Regions from separate parts of the Homo sapiens genome. Here all the other regions are linked to region 3. Evidence: promoter capture Hi-C in 16 types of primary human blood cells and fetal thymus (Javierre and others, 2016). All regions are on one chromosome and are shown on one strand. Each heading gives the region's core, a stretch centred on a gene start or on the middle of the fragment in contact. The rest is flanking DNA. Distances are from core to core; before and after follow the strand shown.

What was found. Contacts are between HindIII fragments. The CHiCAGO score rates a contact against its expected background, and 5 or more counts as called.
Region 1: a fragment that was not itself captured here is called in contact with the fragment with the promoter of AIFM1 in region 3 in 6 of 17 cell types (naive CD4 T cells, naive B cells, activated CD4 T cells and 3 more); the score reaches 7.0 in naive CD4 T cells.
Region 2: a contact is called between a fragment that was not itself captured here and the fragment with the promoter of AIFM1 in region 3, in 2 of 17 cell types (naive B cells and total CD8 T cells). The highest score is 6.9, in naive B cells.
Region 4: a contact is called between a fragment that was not itself captured here and the fragment with the promoter of AIFM1 in region 3, in 1 of 17 cell types (naive CD4 T cells). The highest score is 5.4, in naive CD4 T cells.

The regions. Positions count from the first base shown.
Region 1 is chrX:129,673,821-129,678,402 of GRCh38, reverse strand. It overlaps LOC105373334 (a long non-coding RNA gene), which reads left to right. Exons shown (of 2, transcript XR_938580.4): 1 at 1-274; 2 at 2,385-2,515. Among named protein-coding and RNA genes, the nearest start is that of APLN, 21 kb to the right of the region's middle. RefSeq lists a silencer at 1-28 and an enhancer at 259-428. The HindIII fragment of the contact is 2,299 bases long and covers 349-2,647 here.
Region 2 is chrX:129,691,125-129,695,658 of GRCh38, reverse strand. No RefSeq gene overlaps it. Among named protein-coding and RNA genes, the nearest start is that of APLN, 38 kb to the right of the region's middle. The HindIII fragment of the contact is 2,866 bases long and covers 151-3,016 here.
Region 3 is chrX:130,163,740-130,168,395 of GRCh38, reverse strand. AIFM1 (apoptosis inducing factor mitochondria associated 1) reads left to right here and starts at 2,555. Exons shown (of 16, transcript NM_004208.4): 1 at 2,555-2,845. The coding sequence starts at 2,740. It also overlaps a transcript of RAB33A not described here. RefSeq lists an enhancer at 2,567-2,906. The HindIII fragment of the contact is 8,785 bases long and covers 1-4,656 here.
Region 4 is chrX:129,790,042-129,794,909 of GRCh38, reverse strand. It overlaps SASH3 (SAM and SH3 domain containing 3), which reads right to left. Exons shown (of 8, transcript NM_018990.4): 4 at 3,829-3,970; 5 at 2,434-2,582; 6 at 2,074-2,283; 7 at 1,771-1,921; 8 at 1-1,268. The coding sequence ends at 1,078. Among named protein-coding and RNA genes, the nearest start is that of SASH3, 13 kb to the right of the region's middle. The HindIII fragment of the contact is 1,276 bases long and covers 2,720-3,995 here.

The DNA.
Region 1 (4,582 bases), core at 249-2,748, 490 kb after region 3:
CCCCCCTCAGGGCGGGCGACGCGCTCCTTCGCGGGCCCAGCGCGTTCACTTCCTGGGCCCGGCTGGCACTGCCCTGCGCCGCCGCCCGTCAGTCCCGGTACCCCGCCAGGAAATGTCTTCTTCCTGGGAAGACGGCCGCTGTCTGCGGCAGTGGGTGGCAGAGTCTGAAACCAAGTCGCACAAGCCCTGGGAGACAGAAAGCCTTGTGTTTGTCTTGGGGACTGTTCCGTCAGAATGAGCAGCTTAAAAAATGTCGCCTGTGAGGTCTCAGCTCGTAAGTGCCCCTCATGCCCACCCCCGGGAGGAGGCATGAGGGTGGGGGAAGCATCTTCATGGTAGATAGAAGCTTAAACGCTGCAGAAGCCGCCCGCTCGCGGCGGCCAGGACGAGGCCCCTTCGAGGCCAGCTGTTTGCTGTGTAACTGAGAGCAGAGTCCTTTAAGGACACAGGCCATTGGGTAAACACCCTCCTTGTCCCTCAGGCAGCTGGGTGTGGACGGCGGCTGCCTTTGGCCGGGGAGGCAAGGGCACCCAGCTGTTACCCAGCCAATGAGGACACATAGCCTCTGAGAAAAGCACAAAGGTGGCCCCTCTAGGCTATCTCTAGGGGAAAAAATTACACACACACACACACACACACACACACACACACACACACACACTCTCTCTTAAAAGTCTTGTGCCTGGATGCTCAGCACTGGCCCTGGAGCCTGCACCCACCTGCCTCCTAGTTGGCAGTAGTTCCCTCACACTGGCATGGTCTCCACTGAGATACTGGCTCCTTCATGAGCTCATTCCCATCCTCTACCTTCTTCCTCCTGTTTCCTTAGTTTCTCTCATTCTTAACTTCTGCTTTCTTCATCTTTCTCCCCATTTGTTCCACCTCTTCCTCTTCTGTTTCTTTCTTCCTTTTCCATTCATTTAAAAATGCACTCACCATGCATTAAGCACTGTAGTAGTCAGCCTGGCTGCCATAATAAAAATACCAGAGACTGTGTGACTTCAACAATAGAAATTAATTTTCTCACTTTTTGGGGCTGGAAGTCCAAAATCAGTGTGCCAGCATGGTGAAGTTCTGGTGAGGGTTCTCTTCCTGGCTTGTAAGATGGCTGCCTTCTTGCTATGTCTTCACGTGGCGGAGGAAGAGAGAGAAAGATCTCTTCTTCTTATAAGGCTGCAGTCCTGTCTGCTTAGGGCTCCACCCTTATGACCTCATTTGACCTTAATTACCTGCTGAAGAGCCTATCTCCAGGTATAGTGATATTGGGGGTTAGGGCTTCAGCATATGAGTTTTTTGGAAGTTGTCAGAAGTCAGTCCATAGCAAGCACCTACAGGGATTGTTAGATCCCTAGGAGCTATAGCAATGGGGAAAGCAGCAGTGCAAACAGATGTGACCAATGTTGTTAACACAGTGTGAACAGAACATAGCAGGAGCACGAAGGGGCAGGGGTGAATAGGTGCCTCGAGAAATCAAAAAGGGCTTGACAGAGAAGGTGACATCTAAGGTATGAGAAGTAATTTGCCAGGCAGAAAACAGAAAAACTATATTTCAGGCAAAGGGAATAGCATGTGCAAAGACATAGAGTTGTGAAACGGCACGGCCTGCTTCATAAGCAATGAAAGGTTCTGTAGCACTGGAAGTGAGGGTGTATAGTGGAGGGGGAGGGGGATGTTGGAGATGCAAGTTGGGGTTGCCACATGAAGGGCCAAAGCAGGACATGATGATGGTCTAAGAAGGCAAGGATAGTGAGGCTGGAAAGTAAGGACAGGGTGCAGGGGACATTGGCAAGTTCAAATTGACAGCATTTGATAACTGATTGAATATTGGGGTGATGAGGAGGGAGGAGTGGAGGGCAACTCCTGAGTTTCTAACTTAAGGGACTGGCAACATTTACTGGAGATACAGGAGGAGGAGTGGGTCTGGGGTGGGGGTGAGAGTGGATATGATGAGTGTTAAGCATCTTTAGAAAGTTCTGAGGTTGGGTACTAGCAGTGAAGTGGGGATGGAACAAACACAATGTAGATTCACTAGCTCACGTGAGGAAACTATTTAATGTTTGAAAAGGAACTATCCCAAATAGTTAAAAGAACAGTGCTCAGAATTCACACAGGGCTGGGAATAGTGCCTGCTCTCAACCAGCTAAAATTAGAGTATTGGGTAGTGCTGCAGTCTGAGTCTTTATATACCCCTCGCCCCCCAAATTCATATGTTGAAATCCTAACCCCCAAGGTGACAGTGTTAGGAAGTGGGGCCTTTGGGAGGTTACTAGGTCACTACGATGGAGCCCCAATTATGAGATTAATGCCCTTAGAAGGAGACATAGGAGAGAGCTTCATTCCTTTCTCTCTCTCTCTGTCATTCTCTCTCTCTCTGTCATCTGAAGGTACAACAAGAAGATAGCAATCTGCAAACCAGAAAGTGGGCCCTCACAAGAACTAGATGATGATGGTGTCCTGGCTTCAAACTCCCAGCTTCCAGAACTGTGAGAAATAAATTTCTGTTGTTTATAAGTTACCCAGTTTTGGTATTTTGTTATAGCAACCTGATTGAACTAAGACAAGTAGAGTACACAGAAGGTTCTTGCTTCAGTATGGTGAAATGATTAGCCCCAAACTTAATACTCTTCTGGTCTCATTTAACAAAGCTTAACAGAAAGCCCCAAAAGGATCAAACAATTTCCAACAAACTTAACTGAGTCCCGGAACAAAACTCAAGAATAATTACAGCAAGGTTTCCCAACCTCAGAATGATTGACATATTTGGGCTTCATAATTCTTTATTGTGGGGGCTGTCTTGTGTATTGCAGGACGTTTACCATCATACCTGGCCTGTACCCATTGGGTACCAATAGCACCCTCCAGTTGTAACAACAAAGAATGTCTTCAGACAAACAAAACTGCCTTTAGATGGGAACCACTGATTATAGAAACTTAGACATATAAACAACCAACAAGGTAGAATACACAATGTCTGGCATCCTGTAAAAAATTCCCTAGCATGGAAAGAGCAGGAAACTGTGACTAATAAGAAGGAGATAAATCAATTAATTGAAATCAAACCAGAACTGACACAGATGTTAGAATTAGCAGACAATGATAAAAAAGTTAATTACAACTAACTGTATTCTGTGTGTTCAAAAAGTTAGGTGGAGACATGGAAGTTTTTTTTTTTTTTTTTGAGACAGAGTCTCGCTCAGTCGCCTAGTCTGGAGTGCAGTGGCGCCATCTCGGCTCACTGCAAGCTCTGCCTCCCAGGTTCCCGCCATTCTCCTGCTTCAGCCTCCCAAATAGCTGGGACTACAGGTGCCCGCCACTATGCCTGGCTAATTTTTTTGTATTTTCGGTACGGATGGTCTCGATCTCCTGACCTCGTGATTCACCCATCTCGGCCTCCCAAAGTGCTGGGATTACAGGCGTGAGCCACCGTGCCTGGCTGGAAGATATTTTTGAAAATAGCCAAATCAAACTTATGGTAATGACAACCACAATATGTGAGGTAAAAAACACATTGGATAGAATTAATAAAAGATTAGACATTGCAGAAGAAAACATTAGTGAACTTGAATACACAGAGATAGAAATGATTTGAAATGAAACACACATAGAAAAGAGAATTACAAAATGAATTGAGCATCAGTAAACTGTAGGAAAAATTCAGATGGCCTCTTATATGTGTAATTGGAATCCCTGATGGAGAAAAAGAAAGAAAAGGGACCAGAAAAAAGTTTGAAGAAATAATGGTCAAAATTTTTTCAAATTTGATGAGAATTATAAACGCACAGATTCAGGGGACTCAACAAATGCCAAGTGCAAGAAACATGAAGAAAATTATGTCGAGACATATTGTAATCATATTGCTCAAAACCAGTGATAAGGAGAATATCTTAAAAGCAACCAGAGAAAAAAGACACATTATATACAGAGAGACAAATACAAGATTTCTCATTGTGAACAATATAAGTGAGAAGATGATGAAGCAAAATCTTTACAACACTGAAAGAAAAAAGAAAACTGTTAACCAGGGATTGTGTATCAGGCAAAAATATCTTTCAAAAATGAAGGCCAAATAAAAACATTTCAGTTATATGAAAGCTCAAATAATTTATCACTAGGAGACCCATGCTACAAGAAATGGAAGAAGAATAATAAATGAAAATATGAATCTACACAAAGGAAAGAAGAACACTGGAAATAATTAACTACACAGGTAAATAGGTCAGATTTTTTAAAAAGTATTTGAATATCTTTAATAGATAGTGGATTGTTTAGGCAAAAATAATAACAATGTAGTGTGAGGTTTGTAACATATGTAAATGTAAAATATATGACTACAATAGCACAGAGGTTGTGGGGAGAAATGGGTATATGCTATTGTAAAGTTTTTATAGTATATGTGATGTGGTACATATCACTTGAAGGTAGACTGTGTAAGTTAAAGATGTTTATAATAAACCTAAAAGTAATCACTAAACAGCACAAAAAGTCATAGCTAATAAGCCAATAAATGAGATGAAATGGTATCATAAAAAACATTCAGTTAATCCCCAAGACAAAAAAAAATGTAACAAGGAATAGATGGGAC
Region 2 (4,534 bases), core at 334-2,833, 470 kb after region 3:
CTAGGGAGTGTTTGGGGAGGTGATCAGAATGATGAGGATTCAGAAATAAAATAATGATAATAGCTACCATTTATTAAGTGCTTCCTTTGTGCCAGCGACTGGGCTAAGGGAGGTGAATAAGACAAACACTGTCCCTGCCCTTGGGAAGCTTACATGCCTGGTAGCAAAGGCAGGCAATAAGCCCTGAAGCAGATCAACACATGGATTTATTTAAAAACCTACAAGTGCTACAGAGGAGGACAGGGTGCTATTACCTAGAGAACCTGACCCAGATGGGTTCCTCAAGCCTTCCTTGAGGAAGCAGCATTTTCATCTTTGAGCTAGTTTATGAAAGTAGATTAGGTATTACTTAGGCGACCATGACATCTTTTAAACAAAGAGAACAGCAGGTTCAAAGGCCCTGAGGCACATTTAAGGTACAGGGAGACGAGTTGTATTAAGGGATGTGACTTAGTTTGACTAAGGTCCTGGGAACATTGCTTTGGCTGTGTTGTGGGGGATGGACTGGGGAGATGCAAGGGTGGGTGCAGGGAGACCAGTCAGGAGGGAGCAGCAGCCATCTGTACTAGTTTCCTATTGCCACTGCAACACATTGCCTCACATTTAGTGGCTTAAAACAACGCAAATGGGCCAGGCATGGTGGCTCATGCCTGTAATCCCAGAGCTTTGGGACGCTGAGGCAGGAGGATCACTCGAACCCAGGAGTTCATGACCAGTCTGGGCAACATAGCAAGGACCTCATCTCCACAAAAGAATTTTTTTTTTGAGACAGAGTCGTGCTCTGTCACCCAGGCTGGAGTGCAGTCGCCTGATCTCAGATTACTGCAACCTCTGACTCCTGGGTTCAAGTGATTCTCCTGCCTCAGCCTCCTCAGCAGTGGGGACTACAGGCATGCACCACCAGGCCCGGCTAATTTTTGTATTTTTCAGTAGAGACAGGGTTTTGCTATGTTGGCCAGGCTGGTCTTGAACTCCTGGGCTCAAGTGATCCGCCCGCTTTGGCCTCCCAAAGTGCTGGGATTACAGCTGTGAGCCACTGTGCCCCACCTCCACAGAACAATTTAAAAACAATTAGCCAGGCGTGGTGGTGTGTGCCTGTAGTCCTAGCTACTTGGAAGGCTGAGGTGGAAGGATGACTTGAGGCCAGGAGTTTGCGACAAGTCTGGGCAACATAGCAAGACCCTGTCTCTACAAAAACAAGAACAAAACTAAACAATCCCCTAAAAGACGCCACAAACAAACCAAACCACAAATGTACTCTTTTACAGTTCTGTAGGCCAGAAGTTCAACAGGAGTCCCACTGGGCTAAAATCAAGGGGTCAGCAAGTCTGCGTTCCTCCTAGAGGCTCAAGGGGAGGATCTGTTTCCCTGCCTTGTTCAGCTTCGAGAGGCTGCCTGCATGCTTTGCCTCACGATGCCTTTCCATCTTCAAAGCCAGCAATGGCTGGTGGAGACTTTCTCACATTGCAGCATTCTGAGTCTGACTTTCCTGCCTCTGTCTTTCACTTATAGGGACCCTCGTGATCATATTGGGCCTCTCTGGATAATCCAAGATCATTATTCCCCAATCTCTCTATTTTATTTTATTTTGAGATGGAGATTCGCTCTGTTGCCCAGGCTGGAGTGCAATGGTGTGATCTCGGCTCACTTCAGCCTCTGCCTCCTGGGTTCGAGCAATTCTCTTGCCTCAGCCTCCCGGGTAGCTGGGATTACAGGTGCATACCACCACACCTGACTAATTTTTTGTATTTTTAGTAGAGACAAGGTTTTGCCATGTTGTCCAAGCTGGTCTGGAACTCCTGGCCTCAAGTGATCCACCTGCCTTGGCCTCCCGAAGTGCTGGGATTATAGGCATGAGCCACCATGCCCCGCTGATCTCCGTATTTTAAAGTCAGCTGATTAGCAGCCTTAATTTCCTCTTGCCACTGTAACACAATATATTCACAGGTTGTGGGGATTAGGATGTGCAGATATTGGGGAGTCCATTATCCTGCCTACCACACATCCTGATTTACACACATTACCTCATTTAATGCCCACGCCCTCTCCCCAGGAGGCTGGTACTACTAATTCCCTTTCTACAGATAGGACACTGAAGATTGCACAAGTGACCTGCCTAAGGTCACACGGTGGGAAGTGGCAAAGTCCACAGTCAGACTCCAGGCTGCTTGACTCCTGATCCTGTGATCCTAACCATCACCAGATCCTGCAATTCCATTTCTTGGTAGGACAATGGGAAAGGCCAGGGGATGATGTTTGCCCTAGGGAGCTGAGCTGCTAGCTGACTTCTAGTGTACGATGGGCTGGCTGACTGTTGGCAACACACAGGGTTAAGTTCTGTGTGACTCCAGAAGGCAAAACCAGGTCAAAACTTAAATTCCCAGTTTTAGAGACTTAGAATGTTAGAGCGAGAAGGGATCTCAGAGGTCATCTTTTCTTATAAGGAAATTAAGGCCCAGAGACAGGAAGTAATCTACCCAAGGCCACACAGCTAACTAGTAGCCTAATAAATAACTTTATTTTTTCTTTTCTTTCTTTCTTTCTTTTCTTTTTTTTTTTTTTTTTTTTTGAGACAGGGTCTCACTCTGTTGCCCAGGCTGGAGTGCAGTGGTGTGATCTTGGCTCACTGCAACCTCCGCCTCCTGGGTTCAATCAATTCTGGTGCCTCAGCACCCCCAGTAGCTGGAATTACAGGCATGCACCAACACGCCCTGCTAATTTTTGTATTTTTAGTAGAGAAGGGGTTTTGCCATGTTGGGCAGGCTGGTTTCAAACTCTTGACCTCAAATGATCCGTCCGCCTAGGCCTCCCAAAGTGCTGGGATTACAGGCCTAATCAAGAACTTTCTATTACAATTCTCCTGACAATGATATGGGCTGCAATATTAAGTGATGGGCTCCTCATCGCTGGAGGTGGCTGAGCATCTAACGGGGACCTCCCACTGGGCACAGGCATCACTGGTCATTGTGAAGTGTGTTGCATGTAATTTTGAAATAAACAACAAAGCACACAAGCTTGTAAATGATTTCTTCATCTTAACAAATGAGAGCAGTTCTGGCCTGAGACTTTTTAAAGTCAGGTTTATGAAGGCATAATTTCACCCTTTGATGTGTACAAGTTCAATGAGATTTAACAAAGGTAAACAAAGGTAAACAGTCATGTAACCACTACCACATTCAAGATATGAAACACTTCCATCACCTCCAAATATTCAAAAAGCTTTTTGTGCCCCCCTTTTAGTAAACTTTTTATTTTCAAAGAACTACTCACGAGAAGTTGCAAAAATAATACAGAGAGGTCCCATGTCCTCTTCAGGCAGCTTTCCCCGCTGGTAACATCTTACATAACTATAGTACAATGTCAAGGCCAGGGATATAACATCAGTACAATGCCACTAAGTGAACTCCAGACCTGATTCAGATTTCTCAAGCTTTTTCATGCGCCCATTTGTGTGTGCATGTTTGTGTGCACAGTTTTATGCAGTTTCATTGCGTGTATAGTTTTGCATAACTACCACCATCAATAAACTCCCTCGTGTTACTCCTACCCACCCATGCCCACCTGTTCCCTCCAAGCCATCCCTAACCCTTGGCAGCCACTAATCTGTTTCTGTGCCCCTTTTCATATGCTTTACTGTGAAAGTGCATTTTTAATTAGAAAATAAATTGATGAATCAACTCACGTTGGCAAAAATCCAAAGTATTTAGTTATTTGGAAAGAACTCCTTAAGACACGTTTCTCATTTTAGTACCTTTACTGGGGGTGAACACTGTTAGGGTTTGGGGTATCCTACACTTCTGTCCTTGCAGTTGCATACCGTGCATACATTACATGTATATGTACAGTACCTATAGAAATATATAGTTGTGTACATTTTATCACATATATTGTATCATACATATTGTCCCACAGCTTGTTTTTTGTTTTTGTTTTTGTTTTTTGAGACAGAGTCTCACTCTGTCGCTCAGGCTGGAGTGCAGTGGCGTGATCTCGGCTCACTGCAACCTCTGCCTCTTGGGTTCAAGAGATTCTCCTGCCTCAGCCTCCCCGAGTAGCTGGGACTACACGCACGAGCCACCACACTGGCTAATTTTTGTATTTTTAGTAGAGACAGGGTTTTGCCATGTTGGTCAGGCTGCTCTCGAACTCCTGACCTCAGGTGATCTGCCTGCCTCGGCCTCCCAAAGTGCTGGGATTATAGACGTGAGCCACCAGGCCCAGCCCCACAGCTTTTTTTTTTTTTTTTTTGCCACTTAACAATATGCTTTTCACCACAAAAAACTGATAAATATGGGAGGTGATAGATATGCTAATTAACTTTATTTAATCTTTGTACAATGTATACATATAGCGGGCCCAAGACTGCTTGCGGGTACCAAAATCTGAGGATGCTCAAGTCCCTGATATAAAATGGCATAGTATTCGCATATAACCTATGCACATCCTGCCTTATATTTCAAATCATCTCTAGATTGTGTATAACACCTAATACAATGTAAGTGGCATGTAAATAGTTGTTATATTGTTCAGGGAA
Region 3 (4,656 bases), core at 1,306-3,805:
TAAAAATAGAAAAATTAGCAGGGCGCGGTGGCATCTGCCTGTAATCCCAGCTACTCGGGAGGCTGAGGCAGGAGAATTGCTTGAACCTGGGAGGCAGAAGTTGCAGTGAGCCGAGATACTGCCACTGCACTCCAGCCTGGGTGACAAAGGGAGACTCCGTCTCAAGAAAAAAAAAAAAAAAAAAAGAGTATCTTTGTAATTTCTTTCTTTTTCTTTTTTGAAATAGGGTCTCGCTCTGTCATCCAGGCTGGAGTGCACGGGAGCAATCACTGCTCACTGCAGTCTCGATCTCCTAGGCTCAAGTGATCCTCCCATCTCAGCCTCCTGAGTAGCTGGAACCACAGGCACATACCACCACGCCTGGCTAATTTAAAAAAAAAATGGTAGAGATGATGTCTCATTATGTGCTCAGGCTGGTCTGGAACTCCTGGCCTCAAGCAATCTTCCCACTCGTCCTCCCAAAGTACTGGCATTACAGGCATGAGCCACTGCACCCGGCCCTGTAATTTCATTCTCTATCCCCATTCCACCAAAAAAAAAAAAAAAGTAACTTCATTACCTCCAAAGTTAGGGCCCAACTCTTGCCAGTTCAAATCTGGCCCCCCACCATACTTGCCTGTCTTTATCACTACTTCTTTATTTTTTTCTTTTTGGAGACAGAGTCTTGCTCCATCATCCAGGCTGGAGTGCAGTGGCACAATCTTGGCTCACTGCAGCCTCCACCTGGCAGGTTCAAGCGAGTCTCCTGCCTCAGTCTCCCTAGTAGCTGGGATTACAGGCGCATGCCATGGCGCCCGGCTAATTTTTGGATTTTTTGTAGAGACGGGGTTTCACCATGTTGGCCAGACTGGTCTTAAACTCCTGACCTAAAGTGATTCACCCGCCTAGGCCTCCCAAAGTGCTGGGATTACAGGCATGAGCCACGGAGCCTGACCACATCAATACTTCTTAGTATGTACTCTCTATCATTGTCCCCCGAAAATGTGCTGGGTTTTGGTTTTTTAAAACAGTTCCAAGCCTTTTCATTTAACAAACAGCATGGTGCTTCCTCTAAGACACTTTACAAATATTAGCTCATTTAGTCTTCCGAACACCCTCCTGAGATTTGTAGATGAGGAAAATGAGGCACAATTAAGTGACTTGCCCAGGTGGCAGAGCCAGGATTCAATGTGGGTTGGTCTGGATCCAAGGTCAACATGTTTAACAATGAAAAATGTTATCTTTGGTCCGAAAGTATTCACCATCTGAAATATCAATCCTTTTCCTCTACTGTTTGAATTTTACTACTCATCCTTCAAGACACAACTCAAATAACTTCTTACACGAAGTTCTACCATAGTGATTCCATCCCATAGTCTTCTCTCTTGCTCTGTCCGGCACTACACCAGATATTATTTCAATGACCGGTATATGTCATCTCCCCAACTAGACAGTGGCCACTTCCTATATAGATGCTATGTCCAAATAAACCCATTGTAAACTGAAAATATCGTTAAGTCGAAACTGCATTTAATACCCTGATAAACCCATCATAAAGTCAAAAAACCGTAAGTTGAACCATGCTTAAGTCCAGATGCTCCTCGACTGACATGGGGTTAGGTCTCATTAAACCCATCATAAAGTCGAAAAATTGTAAGTCGAACCATTGTGAGGGGTAAGTCGGGGACCATCCGTACTTTTCATACCCAACAGAGCCCCTTTTATAGTACAATCCAAGAGGTAAGTGCTCAATAAATACTTGTTAAATGAATATGTAAGCTGAATCTTTGAAACAGGCACATTGTATGTTCTGCATGCAGCCAAAACATTATTTCCAATTTAGCTTATATCTGGCAGAGTCAAAACACTTATTTACACTCAGCCCCTCACCCTACTCCCATAACTGAAAGTTCTGCTTAGCAGACTTCTCTTCCCAGAAAGTCCGAGAAGCACGAACGCTTTTTGCTAACATCCTGCTCCCAAGCACAGAAACCACAGCAGGAGACTGTGTGTATCTGTAGCACCTGGTATACAGCATCTAGGACACACAACTGAACTAATAAATAAAGGTGACAGGCGGGAAGAAGAGCGCAGAATTACTTGTCCAGGAAACGGGTTGGGTGGGAAAGAGCCGGCAACTGGTAAAAGATGGAAGTACACGCCGGATCTGGGAAGCCAGGTTCCGCGCCTCGGACTCATGGAAAAACTGGATCTGGATCACTGCAAAAGAATCAGGAAGGCTTCGGTATCAAGTAACTGGTGTCCTAAAACCAAAAAACAAAGTGCGATGCCGGGGCTACGCTGTTGTGAGATGCTGTTATCAGTTCTCGTCACCAACACAGCGGCAGCACCAGGCACAACCGCCAATCAAAGCGGCCCCACGAGTCCCTCCTTGAACAGGTTCCTTAACTCGTTCAGTCCAACACTGTGCCACAAACTCGCGAAAACCGGCTACCTAGAGCCAGCGTCTTTGCGAGCTTGCGGCCAGCTAGTGCATGCGCAAATCCTCTCGCCGTGCGGACCAATCGCAATGCGGCAGCGAGTGCTACGCCTGCGCAGTAGGCCTCCGGTCGCCGTTCCCCTTCCCCGGCTCTAGCAGGCCGGCTTCTCTGTCCAATGCCCACCCGGAGCTGGGAGGAGGAGTCTGCGTAATGTGCGTGTGAAGAGACTGGGGGAGCTGGCCGGGGCTCACGGTGTTTGACCCGTCGGTCGTGCGTGAGAGGAAAGGGAAGGAGGAGGTCCCGAATAGCGGTCGCCGAAATGTTCCGGTGTGGAGGCCTGGCGGCGGGTGCTTTGAAGCAGAAGCTGGTGCCCTTGGTGCGGACCGTGTGCGTCCGAAGCCCGAGGCAGAGGAACCGGCTCCCAGGTGACTGACCCATTCCAGGCAACCTCCAAGTCCGAGGGCCTGGCGCCTTAGGCTCCCTGTGCCTTGCAGCCCTCTACCCCCGCGTCCCCGCGAGAAACTTAACACATAGTCACGTGAATTCCAAATTGGCAGACTCCGAACCCTGAGTCTTGCAAGCGGAGGAATTGGCTCAGCCATGCCGACCTGACCTTCAAGAGATTTGAACCCAGTAGTCGGCTTGAGGCCTTTTCCCGGGAGCGTTTGCTGTTCAGGGATCCCAGAACAACTGGCTGTCGGCGCCTCCCCGGCATCCCCACCCCCCACCCCCCTTTTTAGAGCAATGAGGTCAAGTAGACTTTGTCATTTACCGATTGAGACTTTAAACAGGACGTTTAAGCCCTACGCCTAAGTTTCTTGTGTAAATGAGGGTGTTATCTGCTCAGCCTTCCAAACCACAGATGAGATCCATGGATTTGAATGCCCAGTGAAACAGAAACGGTGCAGGGCAAGTAAGGAGTCGGTTGGTTGTGTACCAGACACCCAGAGAATTGGCCCAGACTTAATTGGAGATGCCTGAGCCGTGTACTTCTTGGTGGTCTTTAAGGCTTCAAAGAAACAGTTTGCAGAACGCATTGTATTTTGTTCTCCATTAAGTTGTTTCATCAAATTTTAGAGCTGGAAGGGATTTTGTGGTAAAGGTCAACCCACTCATTTTATAGATAATAAACTGAGGCACAGAGAGGTGAAATTACTTGCCAAAGGTCACATAGTTAATTAATAGGTAGAGCTAAGGATAGTTTGCTAGCCTCCAGGTCCTTAATCCCTTCGCTGCAACTCCATACTGCTTCCTAAAGTTGACCTCAAAAAGTTAAGAATGAATTCGGGTCTCTTCCCAGTAATTAGCCCATTGTACATCAGATATCCGTGAATTTATCTGAGCATGGCTTGAGCCTGCTTCTTTTCGTACTGCGTTACTTCATGGGGGCAATGAATGATCCACCTGTAGGAGTTGCTTTGAAAAAAAAATCAGTAATCCTTCAATGTCCACCCCTAGGGCATTTGCAATGTCAGAAGTTATCCTTGAGGCTTTTACAATACAGAAACACCTGGGTGCTTTAAAAATAAAAAGTGGAAAATATTTTCCTTGGGTTGTTAGGGTCTTTGCAAATGTGCATTTGAACAGTTTTTCCAGTTGCTATGCACAATGAAAATGTTTCCTGATAGGTGTATTTGAGTTATGTCCTGGGACATACTGCTCTTGGAACTTAAAACCTCTGCTTAGCTTTTAAACTAATGCCTTATCAATGGATGTCATCTTTGAGGGTTTTGTGTATTGAAATGATGGTGCTCTGTGCTTGTTGCACAGAAATTGAGATAACCTGAATTTTTTTTTTTTTTTTTTTTGAGACGGAGTCTCGCTTTGTCGCCCAGGCTGGAGTGCAGTGGCGCGATCTCGGCTCACTGCAATCTCCGCCTCCCGGATTCACGCCATTCTTCTGCCTCAGCCTCCAGAGTAGCTGGGACTACAGGCACCCGCCACCACGCCCGGCTAATTTTTTTTTTTTTTTTTTTGTATTTTTAGTAGAGACAAGGTTTCACCATGTTAACCAGGATGGTCTCGATCTCCTGACCTCGTGATCCGCCCACCTCGGCCTCCCAAAGCGCTGGGATTACAGGCGTGAGCCACCGCGCCCGGCGATAACCTGAATTTTTTCATCCACACTGGCCTTTCAAACTTTGAGTAGTTGTTTTGCTTAAGTCTCACAACTTTTACCAGCATTCTAAAGTCTGACCAAAAGTTCTCATCAATTAAATATGCATTTGCAAAGTTA
Region 4 (4,868 bases), core at 2,108-4,607, 370 kb after region 3:
CTTCAGAAAGCAAAGTTGGAGTGGTGGACCCCCAATGTCAAGTTTAGTGCTCTCTTTGCTTGTGAGGACCCACACAAGTGGCCAACTCTGGACTCAGATCCACAGCTGGCTTCCGAGAGGCAATTCTGTCCTTGGAAGCCAGGTTTGACCATCTGTAATCAGCCTTGTGAGAAGTCTCGTTTGAGGGGGCCAGGGATGGAACGGGAGGGCGCATATCGTATGAGGTATGGGCATTGTGTTAAGCTGGGGGAAGTTGCAGCTTGTCCTGAATTACATGGAGAGGAATAAAGTGGGTGAGTAGGAGGAGCCATTTCATCTGAAAGCCTGAGGCCCCTCTGGTCCCCTCGATAAACCCCACTGGTGTCCCAGGCCACAGGTAACAGGAGAATAGACATTTAATGTCACAGAATGTCAGAGCAGGCAAGGCCTTCAGTGATCACCCTTTCTAACCCCAACCCGTCCTAAGCCTAGAAAGAGGAAGCCACTTGGTTCAAGTCTCATAAGATTTAGTGGCCAAACCTCTAAGAAAGCTAGGGAGAAGGAAAGTGGGAATGGTACCTGTGGATTTCTTCAGGCCTTATTTAGGGGAACTGGATTTACCCATGGTCAGTTTGGGTTCTTTTAAATGGCCAGCTTCCCTAGGGTTTTTAGACTGACCTGAAACATTGACTTGGCCCCCTTTTCAGGAGCAGTGCGACAGGGGTAGGTGGTGTGGGGGTGAGGAGGATTTGGAGGCCTTGTTGGTGAGGGACATGGGCAGGGTTTCCCAGTGCCCCACTTGCTGTGGCCGTGGCCATGGCAGGGGAGCAGTTGGTGCCAGGAGGGGCTGCGCTGTCAGTCGCTGGTGGAGGGCGGGGCTCAGGCAGGTGGGATGTGCCCTTGGGCGACTCCCCAACCACTCCAGCTGAGCCTGGAACCTGTAGGGCCCTGGCCTGGCCTCTGTGGCCCTAAGTGTCCCTGGGGAAGCAGGGCCAGGCTCAGTGCCAGTCCTCAGGACCTGGGCCACCACGGGAGGCTGGGCCCACTCCTACAGCCTTTGCAGCTGGGTCCCAGCCTTGGCCTATTGCCACCGCCACCTCAAGGTGCCCCGGCCAGGGAGAGGCCTTGCAGCTGCTCCTCAGTGCCTGCCAGCTCTGCGTCATCGCGCCCGCTCTCCGAGCCCTCAAAGCAGCCTGAGTCGCGCGGGATGTCCACCTTGGGTTCCGACACTGTGTGTGCCACTGGCTCCTGGCTGCTCTCGGCGCCCTCTTCAGCCTCCTCACTGCCAGCTGCCAGGGACGAGAGAGGGAGACAGAATATGGGGGTGGAGGTAGGGACCTTGGGAAATACACCATAGGCAGTCTCTCCTTCTGGGCACCTGCCACCGCCCTGCCCCTCTCCTCACTGCTTCCAGCTTAGAAGCTGGTAGGAGTTGTTTCCAGGCCAGCTCTGCAGTCCAGGAGCTCACACTTCTTTAGCACTAAGCTGGAGCCAGGCAGTGGGCTTGAATCCTGGCTCTGTTATTACTCAGCTTTGAGGCCTCAAGTAAGGCTTTGCCTTCTTTGGCCTTAAGGGTCCCCTTTGATCCAAAGGAGGTTGGGCCCAATCATCCCTACAACTCCTTTCTCCCGTACACTTTCCCTGAAATTCTAATTCAAGTGGAAAGTACCTTTCCACTGCAGAGCAGTCCTAGGGCAGAGCGTGGACAGAAGGCAAGGCCAGGGCAAGCCTCCCCTCCCTGGAATGCCGGTGGGCACACACCCTCACCAGGCCGCTCCTAAAGCCACTCACTGTCATAGTCCAGCAGCAGCTCGGCGGCCGTGAGCAGCTTGGCCCGGTGCTGTGGATCCATGATGTTCAGCTCATTGAGGTGTGTTTCTCGCAGCTCTTTGAAGTCTTCCAGTGTCTGGTAGCCATTGAGCAGGAGGGTGGATGTGTGCTCCTGTAGGCAGAGGCAGGCCATCGGCACAGCTGCTTACCAGCCACCCCTGCCTAGGTCCTCCCCAACTACGCATAGCTGTCATTTCCTGGTCCCCATCCCTGGGGCAGTTGTGCCTCCCTGATACTAGATACTAGTGAGGACCAAGCTCAAACCTCCAGGCCGATGCGCTCCAGCAGCTCATGCAGGGTCTTAGGCTTGGGCCTCTTGCCCTTGCTCTGTCGGCGGCTGGGGCGGGCATGCCCCACGGCCTCCTCGGGCAGCACATCCACATAGATGAATTTGAAAGAGCCCACCTTGCCATTGAGTAGGCCCAGCCACGTGCCCACAGGTGGCTTTTCAATGATCTGGATCACATCTCCTTTCTGTTGGGGGAGAGGAGAGGAGAAGGGAGCAAGGGAGAGAGGATATGGGGGGCCTTGGCCTCCACTGACACTGTCATAGCCTGGTTCAGTCCAGCTTCCTTTTTGGGCACAGCCTGCCAGGCTCCAGAGAAGCCCGGATGCTGATCTTACCTGCAGTTTCAGCGAGTCGTGGTCATAGGGGCTGGGAGTGAAGTCGGTGTGGACTCGTGCCCGGCCACAGAAAGGCCCTGTGTACTGGGGGGCAGGTGGTTCCTCCCCGAAGCTGCCAGAACCTGGGCTGGGGCTGCAGAGCTCACTGCCTGCAGGAGATGGGGCAGGGAGGAGGCTCACCTTTGTCCTAGAACAGCTGAGACAGTGCCTAGCAGGTGCCTTCCAGGGGACCTGCCTAGAAATCCCAAGGGTATACACCGGGAAGGCAGCTGGGCTCTGGCAAGCTTTACACTGCAGAAGGGATTCTGAACCACCCCCTTGGCTACCGACCAGGAGCACGGCTTCACCTCTGGGCCCTTGGACATGAAAAGAGTTGGCAATGGGAGGAGAAATGGCTCACTGACCAAAGAATGGGCAAATTAGGAGGGCCTCTAGAGAACAACTGGGCCAACACTCCAATGAACAGATGCGGAAATCTGAGGTCACACAGACCAAGTGAACTGCTCAAGGCTTCTCATTTTATAACTGGCAGCACTGAGTCAGTCCATTAGACTCCATGTTCCCTGATACCCACTCCAACGCTCCCTCCACCCAGGAAGCTATGCCCTGCATTCATATTTGACTTTCCCTGCTTAACTCAATGTGTAGTTACAATGTCACATAGAAACTCAGTTGGGCTCCTTCTCCCTGGGAAGTACAGAGTAGTGGGCATTTTGAATGATTTTCAGTCGGGGGCAGGGAAGTGTCTGTGGAGGCAGAGAAAGCAGGAAACTTGGAGTGGACTTGAGGGGCAAGAAAGGCGGTGCTGAATGGGGCTGCAGAACCCAAAGCCCCTGCCTGGACGAGTTCCCTGCTGGCACCTCTTGTCCTGTCCCATGGACTTCTAGAAGATGCCAGGTGATGCCCTGAGCCCAGCAACTATGGTCTAGGGTCAAGAGGCTGACTCTTCACAGCTGGAGACCTCATACGCCCACCCCCGACTGGGGCATCAGAGGCCCAGGGATCTGTAGCCTCTAGCTCCCCTTGGAAAGGTGGGGACGGGCTGGTCCAAGAGGGTGACTGAGACTCTTCCTCTGCCCGTGGGCCTCTCCGGGGCCTGAGGATAGCAAGTGGAAGTTCCTCTACGGTACATCTGAGTTCAAGACTGGGTCATCTTGGGCAAGTCACTTAACCTCCCTAAGACCCTGTTTCCACATCAATAAAGCAAGGATAACAGTACTGGCCCCATGAGGTTGTTGAGAAGATTTAATGTGAAGAGGACTGAGAATGTTCCCAGCAGGCAAAGAGTAAGCATTCATTTCTCTTACCCCCCGCCCAGACAGTGTGCCACCAGCACGGCTGTAACCCAGTCCTTTCCTCCAGATTCGGCAGGTGTCCCCCGCATCCCCTACTCACCTGTTGATGCCTGGCGGCTGAGCACCGGAAGTTCATGCTCCTCTTGCTCAGAAAAGGCCAGCGCCATCTTCTCAGGGCCAGGGCTGTCCAGGCTGTAGTCTGGAGATGTCGGGGAGGCAGAGCCCTCCTCCAGAGTGTCTGCCTGCAGGGAGGGTAGGCGGGAAGCTTTAAGGAGCCTTGCTGGGGTGTGCATGAAGCTGAAGAAATGGGCCTGGGCTTAGTGAAGAGCTAGGGGCTGGCTCAAACCCCAACTCTACCACTTATAGGCTGAATGGCACTCTCTGAGCCCTAGTTTCTTCCCCTTTTGTAAAAATGAGAGTGACAGTCCTTGCCCTGGTTACCTCACAGAAACAGGTTCAACCAGGGCACCATGTGGATGTGCTTTTGTCAGCCTCAAGTGCCGATGTACATACAGAAAAGACCACGGTGGCACAACCTGGACTCAACCATTGCTACCGCACAACTGGGCAGACAATGTCGCTAGAGAGGAAACTACTTTTGCCTGTGTTTCTGTGTGCCAGGCCTGCCTGCCATTTCACTGAATCCTTACAGTGACACTTGAAGGTAAGTGGTATTGTTGGCCTGAGTTTACAAATGAGGAGTAAGGCCCAAGGGTTACTTACTCCTCATCTGTAAACTCAGGCCAAGGGAATTCAGGTTCAAGTCCCAAGGCAACCCACAACCAAGCCAGACTCCAGAGCTCCCCCTACCTCACCACACCTCAGTGAGGTGATAACTGTTTAACAGCTGGCCCTGATGAGTTGCCAATTCCTGTGTTGTAAACACTCCCCTCCACGGCCAATGTCAAGCTACCATTTTGACATCACTGGACGTGTTGTCTGAAATGAGGGTGAGGCTATTGCCACCATGAAGATGCTATGGATGCACGTAACCTCAGCAGCATTGATAAGAGTAAAAGGTAGTACAAGAATTAGGAAGTGATGAGTTTTGAAGATTTACTGTATTACCTTTGTTCGTTTTTACAAAATTTTATTTTTTTAAATTTATTTATTTAGAGACAGAGTCTCCCTATGTTGCCC